Regions from separate parts of the Homo sapiens genome. Here all the other regions are linked to region 1. The links are contacts of gene promoters, found by promoter capture Hi-C in human tissues and cell types (Jung and others, 2019). All regions are on one chromosome and are shown on one strand. Each heading gives the region's core, a stretch centred on a gene start or on the middle of the fragment in contact. The rest is flanking DNA. Distances are from core to core; before and after follow the strand shown.

What was found. The method cuts DNA at HindIII sites, captures the fragments that hold promoters and counts their contacts. A contact is called where the count stands out against the background at its distance.
Region 2: a fragment that was not itself captured here is called in contact with the fragment with the promoter of GRM8 in region 1 in 1 of the 25 tissues and cell types used here (dorsolateral prefrontal cortex).
Region 3: a contact is called between a fragment that was not itself captured here and the fragment with the promoter of GRM8 in region 1, in 1 of the 25 tissues and cell types used here (adrenal gland).
Region 4: a fragment that was not itself captured here is called in contact with the fragment with the promoter of GRM8 in region 1 in 1 of the 25 tissues and cell types used here (bladder).

What each region holds. Positions count from the first base shown.
Region 1 is chr7:127,251,554-127,254,555 of GRCh38, reverse strand. GRM8 (glutamate metabotropic receptor 8) reads left to right here and starts at 1,615. Exons shown (of 11, transcript NM_000845.3): 1 at 1,615-1,759. RefSeq lists a silencer at 348-407 and an enhancer at 528-777. The HindIII fragment of the contact is 12,389 bases long and covers 1-3,002 here.
Region 2 is chr7:127,089,611-127,092,612 of GRCh38, reverse strand. The region is part of intron 3 of GRM8 (glutamate metabotropic receptor 8); the gene reads left to right. Among named protein-coding and RNA genes, the nearest start is that of MIR592, 33 kb to the right of the region's middle. The HindIII fragment of the contact is 3,292 bases long and covers 1-3,002 here.
Region 3 is chr7:127,405,992-127,408,993 of GRCh38, reverse strand. No RefSeq gene overlaps it. Among named protein-coding and RNA genes, the nearest start is that of ZNF800, 15 kb to the right of the region's middle. The HindIII fragment of the contact is 8,913 bases long and covers 1-3,002 here.
Region 4 is chr7:127,106,804-127,109,805 of GRCh38, reverse strand. The region is part of intron 2 of GRM8 (glutamate metabotropic receptor 8); the gene reads left to right. Among named protein-coding and RNA genes, the nearest start is that of MIR592, 50 kb to the right of the region's middle. The HindIII fragment of the contact is 5,062 bases long and covers 1-3,002 here.

The DNA of each region.
Region 1 (3,002 bases), core at 366-2,865:
AGCTGTTTCCTCAATCGAAACTTCGCACATTACAACCAGCCTTGGGAAAAGCCAACACCACCAGGGAGGAAGTGCTATGGGGTTTTGAAGCCAGACACTGATTTCTGGCTGTAATACTTTCCAGCCGTGTCTCTAAGCCTCGGCTTCTGCCTCCATCTGTAGAGTGGGCTTAATAATTTTGACCATCTCACAGAGTTGATGTGAAAATTAAAATAACCCGAACAGAACAGGCGATATATACAGGAATTAATGAAAGATTCCTGACATAATGCTTATAAGTTCATGATGCTTAGGAAGATAAAATTCATTGTAGAGATGCCGAACGGGGGTCTAGAGCTTGCCTTTTCGGGGTCTCTCCCGTCCTTCTCCATCCTCCTTATCTCCTGGGCTGCCCCCTCTCCCCCCGCGCCCCGCTCTCCCTGGCTCGCCCGGGCCTAGGGCGCCGCCTGCAGTTGCGCGCGGCCGCCTCTAGATGGAACTTTCTCACCAACGCAAGGCCCGGCCGGAGCAGCTACCCGGGAGCTGGGCGGCGAGGGGCTACTTTCTCTCATTCCGGCGGGTGCAGGATCGGGGGGCCTGGGCAGTAACTAGTGGGGAGGAGCGCTGGACTGTGCACGTCGAGCCCGGCAGGTTTCCGCATGCGGCATGCGAAGGGAATCCCGAGGTTTCCCTGCAGAACCCGAGCACGGCTCCCCCGGAGTTTCCTGCCCCGCGTCTGCGGCTCCTTGAATCATCTCAATAAAATGACCGTCCCGGTAGCCACCCATGCCCCTTCCTGCGCAGTGCCCGCAGCGGACCGCGCTGTGTGGTACCTCGAGCCCTGGGGACTCTGTTGCACGCGTCCCTCAGACCCTCGGGGGCGGGGAGTGGGGAGACAATCGCCAGAGCCGCGGGGCGGGACAAATGGCGGAACCGCCGCGCGGCGCCAGGCAAACTTTGCAAGGGAACCGCGCGGCTTGCCGGCTCTACTTTAAGCATTCCCGAAAAGAAAGCATGTGGCGGGACACTTGTCATCTACCATGTGTTATTCTCGGTGACGCTTTCTGGAGCTGTGTTCACCGGGGACCCGGGCTCGCGGGTGCTGCCCGCTGTGCTCGGGCGGGCGTCGCGCCTCCCCGCGCCGGTCCCGGGCTCGCCAGGCAGCCGGAGCCGCTGGGCTCCTCCACAACCATATTCCTTCTTCTACCGCTCCCGCTTCTTCCCACCCTCTCACTCTGTAGTTGGGTCCTCCCCTTTTTCTTGGGGGCGGGGAAGGGGGGATGATTTTTAAAAATCAGAACTATTGACATTTCTGGTCTCCTCGTCGCTTCAGGCTGAAGAGCGGAGGGGGATCCGCGGGCCGAGGGTCCCCCTCCCTGCCCGCGCCAGGGCCGCTGGGTGACACCGAAATCCAGAGGCTCCCGCCCCTCGGGGGTTCCTCCTCCCGCTTCCCGAGGTGACTGGTTGGCGCGAAGCGATTGGCGATCCCGGGCGCGATCCTGGCCGCGGCTCCCCGCGCCGCGCCGGGTGAATGGCCGCGGGCGGAGGATCGGGAGGCGCCGGGCGCAGACCAATCGCGGCCGCCGGTGGGAGTATTTGTTATTCACATGGAAGAGACTTGGCGCCTGCTAGGCCAGCTCAGCCCCCTCAGCCCAGAGATCAGCCACAAGTGCGGCCGCTGTGCTCGCCTCACGCGGCGGCGGCGGCGGCGGCGGCGGCGCTGACATGGAGCTGCGGGCCCCCGGCGGGCTTCCTCACCGCGCCCTCTGCGGGGAGCAGGGTAAGACTCGCCGCCCGGCAGCAGAAAGCGGCTCCGAGGAAAGCAAGTGCCGAACCACGGGACAAAAAGCCCCTGGCCCCCAAACTTCCCCAAAACGCCCTGCTTGTTGGAAAAGGAGAATCCCCCCGTTTTATTCCCCTTTCCGTTTTCTTCTCTAAAACCTTTCAGCGGACAGCCAGGTGCACCATTCCTTCTCATATCACTCTAGTGATTTGTTTTTCCTGAGCACAAGTAGATGGCCCTGCATGTCCGTAGTCTGTGAGAGAAATAGCGGGCGGAGGTGACGGGAATGGGGGGAGAAGGAGAGTGGGCACCAGGGGGCGAGGGGCTGGCCGGGCATTGGAGCTTGATTGGGTGTCTGTTGATTTTACGTTGCAAAGAACAAGGCAGCCACCCCTCTTGTCTGCCCATGATTACATTACAGTAAAGAGGTTCAGAAAAGAGGGAGACTTTACCCGGAACTCCCAAGGCTTGGAGATGTGATCCCCCAAAAGTTTAGTCGGCGAATGGGAGACTGAAGGGTGACGGGAAGGGGGCAGGCGCGCTCGGCGCTCTGACTGGGCGTGCGGCGGCAGGATTTTAAAGCGCTCTGCCTCGGATCGTCTGCCCTGGGTGACCTCCCGGACCTGCCCTGGTGGAATCCGGACTTGCCCCGCCGAGATGACGAGGTACCTTCGTTTCGCGAACCTAACAGGAGGGATTTCTGAAGTTAGCGGCTTCCGGGATGAGTCGGGGTAACCCCCGCCCTCTGAGCGTGGGCTGGATGGATGTCTAACCAGGATCTAGGGAGGATGGGGGTCGCGGGGGAAGCCGGGCGCTTCGGGGTCCTCGACACCCACATCCCCGCACGGCGCACGCTCTGCCTCGAGTTTGCGTTCTCCGAGTTAGCACGGCGAGCTTGGGATTTCCGTGCCCCTCTTTTGTGGCTTTCGAGAAACGCCGGAGTTCCGTGTCCTGCTGGGGGTTGGGGGGATGGAGAAAAGGTCTCGGGGATCTTGTTTAAAAAGCAAAGGCAAACGCACCCCAACAGCTCCTCGGTAGCTCCCGCGGCTGGCGCGGCCCCAGTTTCGGGCGGCCCCGCGCGGGGCGTGGGCGCGGGCGCTCGGGCGGCCAGGTGCGGCGGGGGCGGAGGCTGCATCCCCAGCGCGCCGGAATGCCCCGGGGCGCGGGAAAGGCAAAAGCAGCCTGGCGCTCTCCCCACGGCCCCAGTCTCTATCTACCCAGAACCCGGCTTCAACAGCCC
Region 2 (3,002 bases), core at 317-2,816, 160 kb after region 1:
GCCTTAGCCTCCCAAGTAGCTAAGATTACAGTCATGCACCACCACACCCAGCTAGCTTTTTGTATTATTACTATTTTTTAGTAGAGACAAGATTTCACCACGTTACCCAGGCTCATCTCAAACTCCTGGCCTCAAGAGATCCACCTGCCTTGGCCTCCTGAAGTGCTGGGATTATAGGCGTGGGCCACCGTGCCCAGCCAATGTTTTATTTTCTTTCTGTTCACAGTTTATTTCCAGGAAGCCTTCTCTAATCTTCATCCCCTCCTCTTCCCACCCAAGTTAGATTTCTCTTCTATGTATTCTGTCAAATGAAAACAAATCCAGACTTAGATAAGGAGGGATTTTATTCAAAAGAAAGACCATTGCCACAGAGAGAATGCTCCAACCTCAGAAATTGTCAAGTGTCACAAAATCAAAAAGAAAGAGGCTTCCATTATATAGGGTAGGGAGAGATAAGCAAAAGCTTAATTAAAATTGTAAAAGGGATTAAGCAATGGAGGGATGACCAGTGGAACGGGGGAATGACCAGTGGGATGGGGTGATGACCAGTGGGGCGAGGTGATGACCAGTGGGACGGGGGGATGACTAGTGGGATGGTGGGGGGGGTCATCAGTGGGACGGGGAATGATCAGTGGGATGGGGGATGGTCAGTGGGATGGGGGGATGACCAGTGGGATGGCGGGGATGATCAGTGGGTTGGAGGGGGAGTCATCAGTGGGCCGGCGGGGAATGATGAGTGGGCCGGCGGGGGGGTCATTGGCGGGACGGCCGGGGGGTCGCCAGCCAGACGGCGGGATGACCAGTGGGACCGCGGGGGTGGGGAGTCATCAGTGGGACGGCGGAGGGATGATCAGTGGGACGGGAGGGATGACCAGTGGGAGGAGGGGATGATCAGTGGGATGGCAGGGGGGTCATCAGAGGATCAGTGGGATGGGAGGATGATCAGTGGGATGGTGGGGTGGGTCATAAGTGGGACGGGGGATGATGAGTGGGACAGGGGAGCATGACGAGTGGGATGGGGGGATGACGAGTGGGATGGGGTGGATGATGAGTGGGATGGGGATGACCAGTGGGATGGTGGTGGGGGGGATGACCAGTGGGATGGTGGTGGGGGGATGACTAGTCATCAGTGAGACGGGGATGGTGGTGGGGGGGATGACCAGTGGGATGGTGGTGGGGGGATGACCAGTCATCAGTGAGACGGGGATGGTGGTGGGGGGATGACCAGTGGGATGGGAGGATGATCAGTGGGATGGTTGAGGGGAATGATCAGTGGGACAGGGGGATGATCAGTGGAACTGGGGGATGGCCAGTGGGATGGGGAGGATGATCAGTGGGGTATGACAGGAATTGTCCTGCTGTGGTCAGCTGATTCTCAGTGCAAGCTAATAAGGGGGCCACATTCCAGTGTTTAGTGCTTTCTCAGGCTTGGGGCCAAGTAGAATTCAGGGACCTGTAGGAAGGAGAGAATCCTGACTAAAGTTCTGTCAAGGCAAAGTAAGAGGGTAAGAGGTGAACCACTGTGAACACTTGGTCAGTTTCTGAGGTCCCATGCAGACATCTTACCACTTTTTAAATTATTCCCTTCTTTTTCTTCAGAGGTGGAAAGCATACCACAGACATCTTTCATTAGCACTGTAGCTGCACTGTCTAGAAGATAATCTGAGAGTGCTTGTTGAATGAAGGAATAGATGGACATGGCAGGTGAGTGCATGCTGGAGACAGGACATCAGGAAGTAGGTAGCTTGGAGAAAGTCAGATGGCGTGGCTAACAGTCCACATAAAAATTGTTCTGTAGCAGAGGATGGGACCCTGCCCTAGGGTCAGGGCTCAGCATCTCATTCTGTTTAGCAACAGTTGAGAGACATGGGATCTGGGTTCTGGGGCATGCCAGTGCCGCAACCGGAGGGCACATGGGAAGGAAGGAGAGCCGGGAATCAGAATTAGGGACAGGTTTCAGTTGGGAAACAGAAGCAGTAGCTTAAGTACATGATAGCAGGATTGACACCCAGGTTGCTAAACTTGAATCTGAAAACCAGAACCAGATAGTAGATCTACCATTCTTAGATTAAGAACCAGAGATCTGCTATGTCAGACAAATAGAGTGGATGCAAAATCAGAAGTAGATAAATCTGATGAATATATTATTCCTCTTTCAATTGGTTTGGAATGTTCCAGGTATGTAACATGAGATGTGAGTCATGACTGCAAGATGTCCTAAGGTCTAAAGCTTCTGCTATTGAGTCATGACTCCAGGCCCTGATGAACTTGCTTATTCACCATTCATTTAACACATAATTGGTACCCAAATGAAGTTCCAAGAACTTGTTAGGTGCTGGGAATTTACAGATCTGGTAAAAGCCTTTGAAGGGATTTGATTTGGAGAGATATGGTACAGTTGAGGTACGTGTGCAGAAACTGGATTGCAGGGTCAAGATGGAAGCAGAAGATTAGTTAGAAATCTATTGTGTGTCTCCAGGCAAGAGCTGGGATTGGCTTGGACTGGAGTGGGAATGAGGGCCAGAAGCAAGTTGGTATTGGCACAAGTGGTCACAAGGTCCCAGGCATGGAGGATGGGAATCACTTGATGCTGTGGGGATCTATGCCATTGAAACAAAACTCATTTAAGACATCTTGGCCAACCGCAGTTTGTGTCCTGGAGCCCTTAGATTGGGATGGGCATGTGCAGAATGACTATGTGGCTCCCCAGAAAGAATCCCACAGAGAATGATGCAGAGATGGGACATCAGATGAATTATTTCCTGGCAAAATTCCACTCAAGACTCAGCATCAATGATACTTCCTTAGTGAAGGCTTCCTGGGTTCCCTTAAGTAGTGTTAGATGAGCTCTATTCTGTGATTGCAACACTGTGTGTGTACCTTTAGTAAAGAAAGCATTTGTTTTACTGTCTCAGACAGGACTTAAATGTAAGCCTATGAGGCAATTTAGGGTACAAAAACTTAAAACAGTATAGGAGTAAATCTGACTTCTCAGGCAGGGT
Region 3 (3,002 bases), core at 286-2,785, 150 kb before region 1:
ACACACATAACAACTCCACATTTTGTGTGCACATTTGAGTTTAGTGAGCAAATCTATATATTTGCTACATACTCTGATGTTTTTACTTTGCTGTTAAGATAAATCACCCCTGTACATGGCCTATAAGGGTCTTCTTGATCTCATCCCTTACCATGCCCACCGTGCAGCAGTCACACTAGCTCTCATTCTTTCATGAAGACTTTTGAACTTGCCAGACCCTCTGCCTAAAACATTCTTTCTACTACACTTTAATTGGGCAATTCCTTATTTCCTTAAGCAAGGCTTCCCTTACCTCCCTGGCAGGGTCAAATCTCTCTGTTATACCCTCTTCTAGCACCATATCTCTTACCACACCACGATCATAGTATGCATATTATATTTGGTGATTTTGGATTAATATCTGTCTCTTCAATTAGACTGTAAACTCCTTGAGGGCCAGTGTAATCATGTCTGGTTTTGTTTACCCATACATACCCTAGAACAGTATCTGACACATAGTGCCTAATCTATGTATAGAAATCAGTCAATATTTATTAAATGAGTGAATGAGTGAGTTATTTTTCTCCTTAGTCCCTGTTATGCCATTTCTGAGTTTACTTCCACTTCTGTCCATTTGTGCCTTCATTCAAAAATGTTCATTGAGGCTGGGCACAGTGGCTCACACCTGTAATCCCAGCACTTTGGGAGGCCAAGGCGGGAGGACTGCTTGTTCAGTCTGGGCAACATAATGAGACCTGTCCCTACAAAAGAAAAAATAAATTAGTGGGTGTGGTGGAGCATGCCTGTAGTCCCAGGTACTCAGGAGGCTGAGGTGGGAGGATTGCTTGAATATAGGAAGTCAAGGCTGCCATGATTGTGCCACTGCACTCTAGCCTCTGGGTGGCAGAGCAAGTCCCTGTCTCTAGAGTATATATATATATATATATATATATATATATATATATATATATATATATATACACATATATATACATATTTTTTTTCATTGAGTACCTAGCATGTGTTAGACTGTATGATTGCCTGTGACCGATTAAATTATAACTGGTCTAATCAACTACTGTTAGGTAGAAGGAATCATTTTACCTGCAAATGATTCTGGATAAGCCCTGGCAAGAATACAGGAATTCATCTCCTTAGAATGTAACTGTGTATATGGCAGAAACTTAAGGCTTCATGGACTATCCCTATGGACTCTTCAGTATATTATTATTGATAATGTTAGTCAACTAGATTATCTAATTTAACCTTGAAAGTTTTTTTTCCTAGCTCCTAACCTAATCCTACTTGCAGATTTCTTGCTCAACTGCAAATTTAGTTTTGTAGCAAATTAAACTATCAGTATATGTAAGAACTAGATAAAATAACCTCAAATGTTTCAAATCCTGACCTAGTCATGTATTACCTATATGAAGACTGCAAAAAGCCAGCTGATTAACTTTCATCAGTGACTTTTGATTATACAAGTAATTGTATTCTCTTAATGAAATCATATTTTAGGCAAATGATGTAGTCTATATAAATGAGTCATAGCAAAACAGATTCTTACATATTATGCATATTTGTACTAACTCCATGAGTATAAGCAGTAAGGTATTTTTGGTAGAAGTAGAGTTTCTCAAATTATGTAAATTGGACACGTCTGGGTGGATAATCATGAATTTTCTGCTGAGTGTTTAATAGAAGGAAAATGCTTTTTTCTTTTAAAAATTATTTTGAAAAACTGATTATTTTTAATCGGAAAGTAAATTACTGAAAACCTAAAAACAGTAGACTTCATATCATCTGTAGGAGACAGCAATTATACTAGACTATAAATGCCATGAAGATGGAGATCACGTTTTTTTGTTGTTGTTCACCATTATATCCCCCAAACTTTAGTACGATGATTGGCATATAGTAGGTGCTCAACCAATTGAATTGTACTTGATATTTATAGAGGATAAACTAGCAATGCTTGATCTCAGTGTTGGTGTTAATAGGTCAAGTTGCTGGCTTGTGTCTCAGTTAATGAAAGAAACCTCAGTACAAAGTATATTCTAACTTTGAATTAGGAAGATCAAAACAGTAAGTCTGACTTCTTATTGCATGGTTCATGTGAGAAAAGTTTATTCAGATTTGTTATATTTCTACATATATGAATTCAGAGGCATGAAGGTTTGGTTCAATTACCAGTCTTATCCCTTTCATTTTTGCAAACTGTCAGGGTCGGAATTAACTTTAAAGCCACCCTTTTTACTCCAAGTTCCCATCAAGTGTTTGAATCCCTTTCACCATACCTGTACTAATGTCCTGGCCAAAGTTTGAACATTTCCTAGTGGTGGGAAACTTAACACCTCCTGAGGCAATACATTCAATTATAGGACAGCTTGGTCAGAAAATTCTTTATTCTGTTGCACTGGAATTAGCATTCCTGTGCTTTTCACACCCCAGCAAGGATGACTATATGGAACACATTCCTTTTCCATACAACACTCTCATATGGAGTTGAAGACTTTGCTGGCCAGGCAAAATCTCCCCACTTCATGCGAACATTCCATGCAGGGCATGGTTTCAAGTCTCCCTCTCCAGGTCCTCTACCAGTGTGAATGTGTATCCATTTGTTTATATCTCTTTTAAAGTGTGGTGTTCGGACAGATCTCAGTATGTTAGGTGTGCTTTATTTGCAGCAACCATGATCCTTGCCAAAATACTGGGTTTGTAGATAGCCATGTGTGTCTCAGACATTTTCTTCTGGGTGCCTAGTGACAATTTCTATGAATCTGCAACAACCTCCTGTGTAAGTAAAGCTAAAGAAAGATTGGAGAAAGTGATTCTTTCCTAGGTCACATAAAAAACTACTGGGGAGACTATGTAACTCCTTTTATCTCCATGCTCAGGGAACATATGAAGGTTAACATAAAGCTGGTTAATGCTTTTGCTTTGTTTTGGATCATATTTCCCTAAGTAAGATAATGGATATAAAGTGTCTGGCCTCGTGTCTCAGACAGAATAGTGACTCAACA
Region 4 (3,002 bases), core at 307-2,806, 140 kb after region 1:
TGTATTAAATTTCCTGCAGCAGTTTAATTAATTAATTGCCCTCAAACATTCATTGAGCACTTGGTCTGCCTGGTGTTGGGGATGCCAAATAAAGAAACAGAGACCCTGCTTGGTCTTGAGAGGATCATAAGCCAGCAGAGTCATGATTCTAATGTTAGATGGCGGAGGCTTTGGAAGACAGGAATAGCAAAAGACAGCTCTGCCTGATGGAGTTAGTGAACTGTCCCCAGATGGAGGTGACTTTTGAGCTGGATATTGAATTTGTATAGAGGATCATTAGATAGAGGAGAGCATTAAATCTCCCTGGTATGGAGAAGGGTGCAGATGCTGTGAGAATATGGAGAGAAGGTACAGGTCAGGGGAGGAAGATGAGACAGAATCTGATGATCTTTGTGAACCAGACCGAAGAGTTTGTATTTTATCCTTTACATTGGCCATGGGAGTTAACAGAGGCTTATAAAAGACACTACTTTTTTTTTTAAAGGATGGGGGAACTGATAATGGGTGCTTTTCCTAGCAACTTCTTTTCTTGGGATGCTTTTCTTCTTTTTCCTTTCATTTTTTTCCTCCGCTTCTCTTCACCATTCACCACCTTTTTTTCCATTGCTGTGTTTCTGGTAGATGAAACCTCCAAGGTTAAGTGGGTAGTTGCAGTGAATTTGATGTAGGGAAAATAAAAGGAACATTCCAGGTCTTTAAAAAATTTTTACTTCAGTTGCCAGTAGGGTTTAATTTGCGGGTGGTAGAAATACTGGGGATGCTGGGACAGAAATTAAAATGCTTAATGAACCAATGCTTAGGGGTCTACCACAATAAAATAAAAATGAGATGTGACTTCATGAAAACTTGAAAACTTGTCTTGAAATACTATTCATATACCCTGATGTGTATTATTGTAGAGTGAAAAAATAAAAATACAAATGCATACTCTTGCATTGCTTTCCCACACATTGATCTGCAAAGAGAAAACTCTTCAAGACTTTGGGGAGAAAGTCCATTACTGAATTAATCAAACAACCATCTTCTATCTGCACTTTTATTTTATATACCCTTTACACCTGTTTAATTAATCCTAAACATGAGGCTGACTGCTAATTAAACAGCCTGGAAGTGACTGACTGAAGGTAGTAATTTGAGATAATTAGTTTTGGTTTCAAACACTCAATTTTCACACTTTCTGCTCATTTTTAGAAAGGGTGGCTCATTATTATAGGCAGGGTGGGAGTTGTGTAAGTCATTTTACTGCTGGACTCTTAGTAGCTCAGGAAGTGGGAGTATCGGTATCCAAATAGGACAAAGAAATGGTGTAGGGCTATATATTTTGCTATAGAATGCTCCCCTATTCCCTTCCCCCCACACAACCCCTACTCGCACATACATATAATTTCTTCTAAAGTGAAAGTCAGATGGCTGACTTATTTTCGTTAGGATATAGGAATGCACATACTTTTGATATTTGGGAAATTTTTACCTAGTAAGAGGTAGATCTCACTAAGTTATCCATGGTTTCCTTCCCAGGTCCTCTGAAAACAAACAAGAAAAGGTGAGAAAGGGCAAGATTTGGTGTGTGGTTTGAGATTTGGAGGGGTGTCCTTGCGAGTAGTCATGTACTATGCAGTCACAAAATCTAACCAGGGGAAAAATTTGTCAAGGTAAGGTCAGTATATCTGGCAGAGAAGGCAAAGGGCAGGAGGAGGTGGGTCAGATGGTTTTCATGGTCCCACAGTGTTAACAAATAAGTTAACACAGTCCCCACTAGGAGAACAGAACCAGAAAGAATTTGGGGTTAAATGGGCCACGCTATTCTGGGTACTCTCTGTTACGGCCAATGCAGGTGGATCCAAGTTACATGGAAGCTGAATGAATAGTCAGCACCATGGACAGCTCCAAGCACATTGCTCTGCTGCTGCTCCCGGGATGACTTTTACGTTTTAGGAACTTCACTGTCATTTCACTGGCCACTAGTAGGGAACAGGACTCTCTAGACTTAGGAAGGTTATTTAGATGTTGAGAGCTTTACAAGTATGTCAAGGGTGGAGTTGAAATGTTTATATAGATTGGGAATCATCTGTCTACACTGTAGTGGGGACTATTGGATCCCAGAGTGTGCAGCCCTGTGGGGAAAGATGGAACTGCAACTCCGACATCCTCTTTGAGCACTGACATTAGCTGCAACATGTGATGTAGCATAAAGTTAATTTTTTCATGTACAAGTCAAACCTGCATCTTCAAGTTACCTGAATTAGGGCATCTTGGAGTCACTTTGATCTCTGAACTTTCACTCATACCACAGCATGGCAGCAGAGGAGTTACTATACACAATCACATAGCTCACTCTCCCACATTATTGAGAAATGACATAGGATTCCTCATTTCAAAGAATTTCTGGCAATTCACCCCATTAAAAGAAAAATAGTCTCTTCTAAAGAATTTATGGTCTGGATTCCCTTTTCTGTGATGTTTTGAAGGGGGTTAGAATGATGTTTCTATGAGAGGATATGTGGCTGCTGGCAATTCTCAAATCTTTTTGTGGCACTCTGATTATATCAATAAACAGTCAATAGACTTGCAAAACTATATATTTACAATAATTTACTAAAAATATAGTCTTAAGACTGAAATGGTATCAAGTATAAAAAAATCTTATATTAAATTCCCTGTTAGTCATTGTATAGCATTTATGTCCTATAAAGCCAAAGCCAGTTTCAGAGGTGACCTTTTCTGATGTATATGCCTTCATTTTTCTCTCCTTTCTGCACCAGAGCTTATCATGTACAGACTAAAAAAGCAACATCAACAAAAAGCAACATCAACAAAAAGCACAAATGTTTTGCTTTGGCTCCAGAAACAATGGAAACTAAAGCAAAATGAAATTCTTTCTCACTGTTTAGAAATATTGTGCATTGAGAGAAAGTAAGCCTATGGGCCATTCAAAAATACTTTCCAATTAAATTGGTAGTCATAAAACTGTATTTTGGCTTCAGGTTGATATGTCTAGGTTT